2 separate regions of the Homo sapiens genome follow, and region 2 is linked to region 1. The links are contacts of gene promoters, found by promoter capture Hi-C in human tissues and cell types (Jung and others, 2019). All regions are on one chromosome and are shown on one strand. Each heading gives the region's core, a stretch centred on a gene start or on the middle of the fragment in contact. The rest is flanking DNA. Distances are from core to core; before and after follow the strand shown. Region 1 holds the start of CDK5RAP3 (CDK5 regulatory subunit associated protein 3). Region 2 holds the start of HOXB5 (homeobox B5).

What was found. The method cuts DNA at HindIII sites, captures the fragments that hold promoters and counts their contacts. A contact is called where the count stands out against the background at its distance.
Region 2: the fragment with the promoter of HOXB5 here is called in contact with the fragment with the promoter of CDK5RAP3 in region 1 in 2 of the 25 tissues and cell types used here (IMR-90 fibroblasts and lymphoblastoid cells).

Annotation. Positions count from the first base shown.
Region 1 is chr17:47,967,655-47,972,584 of GRCh38, reverse strand. It overlaps CDK5RAP3 (CDK5 regulatory subunit associated protein 3), which reads right to left and starts at 1,472. Exons shown (of 14, transcript NM_176096.3): 1 at 1,433-1,472; 2 at 1,178-1,223. The coding sequence starts at 1,438. RefSeq lists an enhancer at 483-1,110 and a silencer at 1,532-1,821. The HindIII fragment of the contact is 4,856 bases long and covers 1,297-4,930 here.
Region 2 is chr17:48,592,529-48,597,223 of GRCh38, reverse strand. HOXB5 (homeobox B5) reads left to right here and starts at 3,445. Exons shown (of 2, transcript NM_002147.4): 1 at 3,445-4,103. The coding sequence starts at 3,542. The region is part of intron 1 of HOXB-AS3 (HOXB cluster antisense RNA 3); the gene reads right to left. HOXB6 (homeobox B6) reads left to right here. Exons shown (of 4, transcript NM_018952.5): 4 at 552-1,473. The coding sequence ends at 811. RefSeq lists enhancers at 561-730, 788-1,459, 2,502-3,007, 3,237-3,306, 3,008-3,515 and a silencer at 3,772-3,821. The HindIII fragment of the contact is 8,811 bases long and covers 1-4,695 here.

The sequences.
Region 1 (4,930 bases), core at 223-2,722:
CAGTACAAATCTGAAGGGAGGCTAAAGAAGCTTCCCCCGTGACCACCAAGCAGGACTGACTAAATGGCACTACAGAGTGGTGAATTCAGAACTTGAACTCTGCCAACCGGTCAAACGCTGGGGTCCCACACTAGTATCAGTTATACTCTCTCTGCTATATTCCTGTAAAGTTTTCAGAAAGAAAAATTCTGTTGATGTCACAGAACTAGAAGCAACGGACTGGGGTAGTCAAACAGACACCATCTTAAGGACAAGATTGGCATCAAATCCATGAATCCAATAAGCATTTTAAAATGCCAGGAGCTGTGTGATCAGATGAAGAGGCCTTCCCTGACTATGAACTGGGGAGGAAGTATGTAAGCCCCATACAGACAACCTGGAGATGGCCTGGACACTAAAAGGTTTTCATTTGCAACTGGGTCTTAGGTCCCTCTTCCTCCTAAAATCAAGGGGGAGGTGGAAGCTTTTTAAATGAGGTTTTTTTTTTTTTTCCTGGCATAATGCAAAAGGCATGGACAGTGGGTCAGACAGACTTAAGTTCCAATTCAGATGTGCCACTTAGTGGTTGACTGTTTTTTGTCTTCTTTTTGAGATGGAGTTTCGCTCTCGTTGCCCAGGCTGGAGTGCAATAGTGAGATCTCTGCTCACCGCAACCTCTGCCTCCGGGGTTCAAGCAATTCTCCCACCTCAGCCTCCCGAGTAGCTGGGATTACAGGCATGTGCTCCCATGCCCGGCTACTTTTTATTTTTATTTTTTTGTATTTTTAGTCATGGAGACATGGAGACAAGGTTTCTCCATGTTGGTCAGGCTGGTCTCGAACTCCTGACCTCAGGTGATTCGCCCACCTCGGCCTCCCAAAGTGCTGGGATTACAGGCATGAGCCACCGCGCCCGGCAGTGGTTGACTGTTTTTAAAGCGAGTCATTTATCCTGTCCCTGAATGATACGATAACATATGTTATTAAAGGAGAAAACGCAGGTCAAACAGACTGTACATATGGTTCGTTCCCGCTGCTATCAGGGAAGCAGGTCTGGCCACAGATGGGGCATAGAACGAGGCCAGTGGTCAGCATCTCGACTCAGGCTTTCAGGGGTCAGAGCTCCCGGCTATTGGACACAGGGGGCAACGCACAGGCCTCCCCCCGACAGCCAGCTGCGCGGTGGCGCCCCCTCCTACCGAGCAGCTTGCTGGTCTGGATGTCGATGGGCACGTGCTGATGGTCCTGGCGGGAAACACGGTGAGGAGGGGGGCGTGAGCGCGGAGAGAGGACGTACCACTCGCGCGCTCATTTCAACGTCCCAACCACCACCCTGCAGGGCCAGAACGGGGCCAGAGCGATGGGCTGGGTTGAGCCGCTTCCGGAGGGAGACCGGAGACACAGGTTAGGGGTCCGCGGCCAGTCCCCAGCACACCCAGCTCCTGTCCCCACACCTCCATCTTTCCTCCACTTCCGCTTCAGGCTGGAGACTGTGGCCCGCCCCGCCCTACCACCAATCCAGTGGCGTTGTGGCCGAGCCTCCGTTTAGACACAAACGGGCATCCTTCGGCCACGTCGCCGCCTTCCGTACAGCCAATCAGGGTTTACGCTCCACTCAGGCCTCAAGCCCCGCCCACCCCAGGCTCCGAATGGCTGAGCTCGGGAGGGGCGGGAGAATGGAGACAGCCAATTGGAGACGCGAGGCGGGCTCAGGGCAGGGGACGGGAGGGGGTGCGCTGCAGCGGCCGTGGGATTGCGACAGGCGGCGCTCGAGAGCCCAGCCTGGCAGCCGCTTCCCCTGGCGGGCACTGGGTCTTCTCCACGCAGATTGAGACGTCTGCTGGCGGGGTCCTAGCGCCGATCTGGGAGGCCGTTGCAAATACCTTCTTCCCTCCTTGCGTCGCTTTACCATCCAGAGCAGTGTGCAGGTCTCTTGTGGCACTTGTCATGCTTTGCCTCCTCATTCAGTTTCTCTAATAGACATGGTTGAGCACCTGCAACGTGTTGGGCGATTAGGGCAGGGAAGGGGAAGGAAGAGAGTCGGTGAGACGTCCCAAAGAGAACACCTACATTGAGTCTAAACGAAGAGCTGAAGATAGCTGGGTGATGTGGGAAGAGGAGTTTTAGGTGGAGGAGACTACACAGACAAAGCTTAGGTGGCCACAAACTGCAAGAGGGGTGCAAGCAACAACAGGCAGGCAGGACGGGCAACGTAATTTGTGAGGTCCAGTGCAAAATGGAAATGCACAGCTGCTTGTTACAAAATGATGAAGAATTTCAAGATGAAGTCGGCTCCGCGGGCAGGCCAACCTCTATACCGTAGATGGTTTGAGGCAGCGAGTGGCTAGAGGAGAGGCTGTAAGGGTGGAAAGGCCATATCAAAGGGAGACTTATTAAGGAACTTGGACTTCATCCCTTCAGACAGAGGAATCACAGAAGGGGTTTGAGGCAGGGAGGAACCTGTACAGATAGGCTGCTGGGATGATGGATGCATGGGAGATAAGACTGGGGACAAGGAGGCTGGAAGGAGGTTGTTATCGAGGGATTATAGCCTGAGCTGGGACACAAGATATGAGGAGGAAGGGGAAGGGCTGGATCTGAGGAATATTTAGGAGGAAAATGTATAGGACTTGGCAATTGATTGGCTGTTTGGGTGGAGGAGAGAGACACTAAGGATGACACCTAGGTGATTAGGTGGGAACCACCACCTGAGACAGGGATGCAGGATGCTGAGCAGGTGTTGGGGAGGAGGGGGTCTAGCTTTGAACCTAGTCTGGCAATGCTGGGAGACCCCCAGATGGAAAGTGTGCAGAAGGCACTTGGGTCTATAATTTTGGAGTTCGAGGGAGTTGTCGGGGCTGGAGATACAGCTTGGAGAGTCACAAGCTGGCTAATCTGTGGTCCGAGTGGTGGCTGAAGCTAAGGGAGAGTCTGAGATTGGCCAAGAAGTGGGTAGAGTAAGGAGGGAGGGTAGGCTGAGGCCAGATCCCCCAGGATCTCACAGCGCTGGGTATGCCTTTTCTTTTTTTTTTTTTTTTTTTTTTTTTTTTGAGACGGAGTCACGCTCTGTCGCCCGGGCTGGAGTGCAGTGACACGATCTCGGCTCACTGCAAGCTCTGCCTCCTGGGTTCACGCCATTCTCCTGCCTCAGCCTCCCCAGTAGCTGGGACTACAGGCGCCCGCCACCACGCCCGGCTAATTTTTTTGTATTTTTAGTAGAGACGAGGTCTCACCGTGTTAGCCAGGATGGTCTCGATTTCCTGACCTCGTGATTCTCCCGCTTCAGCCTCCTAAAGTGCTGGGATTACAGGCGTGAGCCACCGCGCCCGGCCCTGGGTATGCCATTTCTAAATATTCCTTCCCCAGCTCCTGTTCACCACAGCACAACACTTGAGGCTTAGTAAATTTTTGATTGAAATGCATAGTGTGATACAGCAGCAGGAAGACCTAGATTCTGCCCAGTGAGGTCTTGGACCATTTCTATAACCTATCTGATAGCCACAGTTTCCCCACATGGAGATAACAGCTATCCTATCTCAGGGTATTTCTGTTTAGAGGCTTAAATAAACACACTAGTAACTCATGACAGTTTACAACATACTGTGGCTGTATTTCTCATGCTTTGTAAACTCTCCCTATATGAAATATCATATATGGGCCAGGCGCGGTGGCTCACGCCTGTAATCCCAGCACTTTTGGGAGGCTGAGACAGGCGGATCACCTAAGGTCAGGAATTCGAGACCAGCCTGATCAACATGGTGAAATCCCATCTCTGAAAAAAACAAAAAACACGCTGGGCACGGTGGCTCACGCCTGTAATCTCGGCACTTTGGGATGCTGAGGCGGGTGGATCACGAGGTCAGGAGTTTGAGACCAGCCTGATCAACATGGTGAAACCCTGTCTCTACTAAAAATACAAAAATTAGCTGGGCGTGGTGGCGTACGCCTGTAATCCCAGCTACTCAGGAAGCTGAGGCAGGAGAACTGCTTGAACCCGGGAGGCGGAGGTTGCAGTGAGCCGATATTGCGCCACCGCACTCCAGCCTGGGCGACAGAGTGAGACTCCATCTCAAAAACAAAACAAAACAAAAAACAAACAAACAAACAAAAACAAAAACCATCCCGGCGTGGTGGTGCATGCCTGCAGTCCCAGCTACTCAGCTACTCGGGAGGCTGCGGCGGAAGAATCACCTGAACTTGGGAGGCGGAGGTTGCAATGAGCCCAGATTGCGCCACTGCACTCCAGCCTGGGCAACAGAGTGAGACTCCATCTCAAAATATATATATATGTCATATATGATCATTATTATTATAGAACGGATTGAAAAACTGCTCTGAAAATGGCTCATAGAGCTGAATTAAGGGCCTTTTCAGGGATCTTTCATGGGAATTTGGCTCCCATCTGAGTCAGCCTGACTCAGACTGTAGGAATTGCTCAGGCTCCTCCATGATTAAACACACACTTAACTGGGCCCCAACTATGTGCTCGGGGCTGTCTGGGACATCTCAAGAGCAAGGCACTGCCCTGCCCTCAAGGTGTATCTATCTCTCTTCCTTGAACCAACAGGCTGGGCAGAACAGGACAGGGTGGGTCTGGAAGACCCAGCCCAGGTGAGTTGATGGAAGCAGGGACCACCAGCACTTCAGCCCCACCCACAGCTCCCCAAGGTGACTCACGTGGAGCAGAAGGATGTTTGAGAACAGTTCTGCCCAGCTACTGACTCCAGGGAGGCTGTCCCAAAGCCAGAGGCTCTGGGAGAGAACCTGCCTCTGCTGACTGCAGAGGCTCTGGGGGAGAGCCTGCCAAAGGCACATGCTTCTGTGTTCCCAAAGAGTGTAGGAGCATGGGCCTTTGGCGGGTTTCTGCACTTTTCCAAGGCCACAGGGAACTTCAGGGTCTGTGGGTAGATAAGCACATAATTGGTCTGGCATCCAGGGCATCGACTCTATCT
Region 2 (4,695 bases), core at 2,196-4,695, 620 kb before region 1:
GAGGAGGGAGGAGGAATAAGGGGAAGGAAGAGAGAGGGAGCAGGCGGAGCGAGAGAGGGAGAAACAGGCGCGGGGTCTCAGGTTGGATTATTTGTTGGCCTTAAGTCCCAACTGATGTCCATTAGCCGGACTCGAAAGTGAGGAGCCGTTAATGTGGACTATGGATCGATCTACGTCATTACGGATTAACGGCCTGGATTTATCATTGGGTTGGGGGGATGACGGGGGGTGGGAACAAGATGGATGGAAAGGGAGGGAAAGACAAGATGCAACTAGGAAGAGACACACCTGACCAGCCCCTCCCCCCAGGCTCAGGTGGGAGTTCAAACTGCTCCTCCCCTCCCCCATCTAGAGTCTAGACAGACGGCACAGGCCTAGGAGACTAGGAGGGAATCTGGAGGGGGCGCTGGAGGAGTGCGAAACGGGGGAAGGGAGCCGGCAGAATAGAGGGCATCCCGGTACTGGCTGGAGTCTGTGTTCGAGGGTCGACTAGGGGAGGGGGTCCTGGGCCCGGTGACCGCAGGCCTCAGCATCTCCACTCTGCGTAACAGGTTCCTCCTTTGGGCCCAGCGGCCGGCGAGGCCGCCAGACATACACACGTTACCAGACGCTGGAGCTGGAGAAGGAGTTTCACTACAATCGCTACCTGACGCGGCGGCGGCGCATCGAGATCGCGCACGCCCTGTGCCTGACGGAGAGGCAGATCAAGATATGGTTCCAGAACCGACGCATGAAGTGGAAAAAGGAGAGCAAACTGCTCAGCGCGTCTCAGCTCAGTGCCGAGGAGGAGGAAGAAAAACAGGCCGAGTGAAGGTGCTGGAAAGGGAGGGAGGACGCGAGGGGAAAGGCCTGTGGGGAGCCGAGGGCGTCAGAGAGACCCGGGAAGGAAGGCTCTCGGGTGGGGGAGCCAGGAGACCTGCTCTCCGGCGCAGACAGGCGGGGCCCAGCGCTCTCCTGGACGCCCCCGCCCGCACAGCTCCCGGCGGGTGCTCTGAGGCCTCACTACTCGAGCCCACCCAGCATCCCGCGCGCCCTTCCTTCCCGAGGAACTCGCCTCAGCCTGATCAGGCTTCCTGGTGAGAACTGAGGAGCGGACTCACTTGATGTTTCCTGGAAGCAGAGCAAAATGCTCTTGTCCCTGTCGCGTCTCATTTTGTCCATGTCCCCCGTGCACGGTTCAATGGTAGATTCGCTGTCCCCTCAGCGGGGGCCTTGAAGACTCCCTGATCCCAGACCTGTCGTCTCTCCCACCCCCTCCCCAAAGCCACTGGAAGGAGCACATACTACCTAGAAGTAAGAAGAGGAGCCTCAGAAGAAAACAAAGTTCTATTTTATTAATTTTCTATGTGTTGTGTTTGTAGTCTTGTCTTAGCTCTGGACGTGAAATACTTCGATGATGATGATGATGATGATGATGATAATAATAATAATAATAACAACAACAACAACAATAATAAAGATGTGAAAACTCGACGCTCGGTCACCTCCAATCCTCCCCTGCCATTTTTTCCTCTCTCCTCAACCCCCAGCCTCTCCATCTTTCCTGAGCCAGAATTCTTCAGCAAAGGCGAGAGCCCTGGCCCGCCGAAGCGAGCCCTGTTCGACTGGGAAGTTACAGCTGAGATAAAGGCTGGAGCGATCAGTCCTGCCCAGGCCCCAGCGCTGCGTTTCCCTGGTGCTGAGGCTCACAGCCGCTTCTCCCCGTGCAGACTTGGGGGATGGAGAGGTGCTGTGTCCCTCTCATTCTCTAGCCTTTCCTCGTGTATACACAGCACTAAGGGAGCCACTGAGGCCCCTAAAGCTCTCTGGCGGAGACGGAGCCATAGTCTGGGGGCCTCTGCAGCGCTTTTCTGTCCTCACCTTCGCAGCGACCCCTGGTCTTTGGCCCGTCCACATGGCCAGGTTTTTTCGCCAGCCTTGGCCCTCCGCTCCTGGCCTGTGGCTCTGGAGACTGAAAAATGGGGCCACTGGGTATCTCTCACCCTGCAGCTGAAGGCTCCAGGTGCCCCTTCCCACCTCAAGTAGCAGATCAGCCTCAAGTAGGAGATCAGCCTCAAGTAGGGGAATGTAAAGCCACCAGCCAGGCACAGGCCGAAGGCCACAACTTTCCCTTGCTCCTTGGAGACCCCAGGGCAGGAGGCCAGGTGATGGGGCTTTTAGTGTCATCCTCTCAACCCAGAATGGCTCATTCTCTCTCTGCTTGCACCGGCACCCAGAAGGCAAGCTGCGGTCACTGTTTTCCTTTATTCCTCCGCCCTCTCGCTTCCTTTCTTATTTTTAAAGAAAATAGTCCCCTCCTAATAGGAGACCAGCTGCGGCGGTCTCTGGCCGCCCAGCGTGCTCAGCAAAGCATGCGGGTCCTTGGAACCCCTTTTCCGGGAAGGCGGCTGCCACCAGGCAAATTCTCAAACTGCCTAGCTGCGAGTGAGGGACCTGTAGTGGGGCCTCCGAATGCAATAGCCGAGGAGGAGGGGAAGGGATCCCGCTTTACAAACTCTCAGACACATGTTACTACTCAAACTAAGCAGCAGACGCGGTGGCCGCTGCAGTCTTTTCGGCAACTAGGCCGCTTAGCCCCAGCTGTGCTCGGTTTCTGGGGTCCCTGTCCTGCTCTGTCACTCCCCACGCCTGGGCTAAGGACCACCAAGGAGGTCCGGAAGGGGATTTCGAACTTCCAAGTGGCCCAGGAGAAGTGAACGCTTCTCCTTCTTTTTCAAGCCTCCCGCCCAGCCCTGCCGGCTCGGCCTGGGCGCTGTGGACCGGTAACAGCAGTTCCACCAGGATGCAGGCCGGACTAAGCTCCTGGGGAAAACCCGTTGCAATAATTGTTTTTCACACACAACTTCCAACCCTTCCCCCATTTCCGCCTCCAATTCGGAGACTTGCAAAGCCCAAGAAAGGGAAAAGCAACTCTATCTTTGATCTTCTCATCCAAAGTTAAAATAATAACGACAATGATGATGTAGGGAGAAAGAACCAAATAGAGAGGCTAACCCCACCCACAAGAAAGTGGGTAAAAAGCCCAACCCCTGCTCTAAAAGGCTCAACCCTGTGGCTGAGCCTTGGCCGGGTTTCTTTCTCTCCCGGCGACTGCAGGGAGCCTGCAGGGAGCCAGCAGGGAGGCAGCCGCCCGCCGCCATGGCGGTCTCACGCCCGCGCTCCCGTCGGTCGCCGGGAGGTGGCGCGCTCTGCTCAGAGGCCAAAGCCAACCTTCTCTCTGTTTCTCCCCCTTCTCCTTTTTTCCCCCTCTCTCGGAGGCTCGCATTGAATCGGCCCTAACGATTCTCGGATCGTCATTATTTGTAACCATAGAGCATGAATTACCTCTTGAGGTCATCAGCGAGAATTTACGACTGGTCAACAAAAGCACGTGATTCCCTAACGCCCCCCACCCCCCTTCCAACCCCCCCCCCATATTTGGCCGCATACATAGCAAAACGAAGTACAGTGCATCGCTATAATTCATTAATACATCATAAATCGTGAAGCACAGGGTTATAACGACCACGATCCACAAATCAAGCCCTCCAAAATCACCCAAATGAGCTCGTACTTTGTAAACTCCTTCTCGGGGCGTTATCCAAATGGCCCGGACTATCAGTTGCTAAATTATGGCAGTGGCAGCTCTCTGAGCGGCTCTTACAGGGATCCCGCTGCCATGCACACCGGCTCTTACGGCTACAATTACAATGGGATGGACCTCAGCGTCAACCGCTCCTCGGCCTCCTCCAGCCACTTTGGGGCGGTGGGCGAGAGCTCGCGCGCCTTCCCCGCGCCCGCCCAGGAGCCCCGCTTCAGGCAAGCGGCTTCGAGCTGCTCCCTGTCCTCGCCCGAGTCCCTGCCCTGCACCAACGGCGACAGCCACGGCGCCAAGCCCTCTGCTTCGTCCCCCTCCGACCAGGCGACCTCAGCCAGCTCCAGCGCCAATTTCACCGAAATAGACGAGGCCAGCGCGTCCTCGGAGCCTGAGGAAGCGGCAAGCCAGCTAAGCAGCCCCAGCCTAGCTCGGGCGCAGCCAGAGCCCATGGCCACCTCCACAGCCGCGCCCGAGGGGCAGACTCCGCAAATATTCCCCTGGATGAGGAAGCTTCACATCAGCCATGGTAATTCTCTCTCTCTTTTTTGTCTTCTCGGCTTTCCTTCTCTGCGTTTTGGGGTGGGATCGGGGGGACAAGGAGAGCTTGGCTTTACCCTAAATATAGATTCATTTTTCTAAGGGGGAGAAGTATCTAAGAGGGGCCTCATAGCTTCGTAGACAGAGCCAAAAAGGGTCTCTCTGTTAAGAGGGGGGTATTTTTAATAATTTGTTTCCAGCTTCGGCTTAGGTTTTTATTAGCGCAGCTGAACCAGCTTTAGGATAAAGGATGGGGTTCATATAATGTGGGGAAGGGTCCTGCTTACCCCTGAAATTTTGAGACTGTCGCTAGCAAAGAAGGGGTGAACAGTAAAAGGAGCTTTCCGGGGCAAAAGTGCAACCGCTCTCCTCCCTCCCGGGGCGAGCGGCCGCCTGAGCCCAGCCAAGGGTGAGGCACTAGGAGCGAGCAAGAGACAAAGCCGGGCGCACTGGCTGCCTGCAGAAGTGGGGGATGCAGTAGAAAGGGGTGCAGAAATCGAGCTTGAATGTGGGCATCTGGAGTAGAGAGGATTGGAGCTGTGGTGAGCTGGGTGCCGGGACGCCTGGGTCCTGCTCCCCCG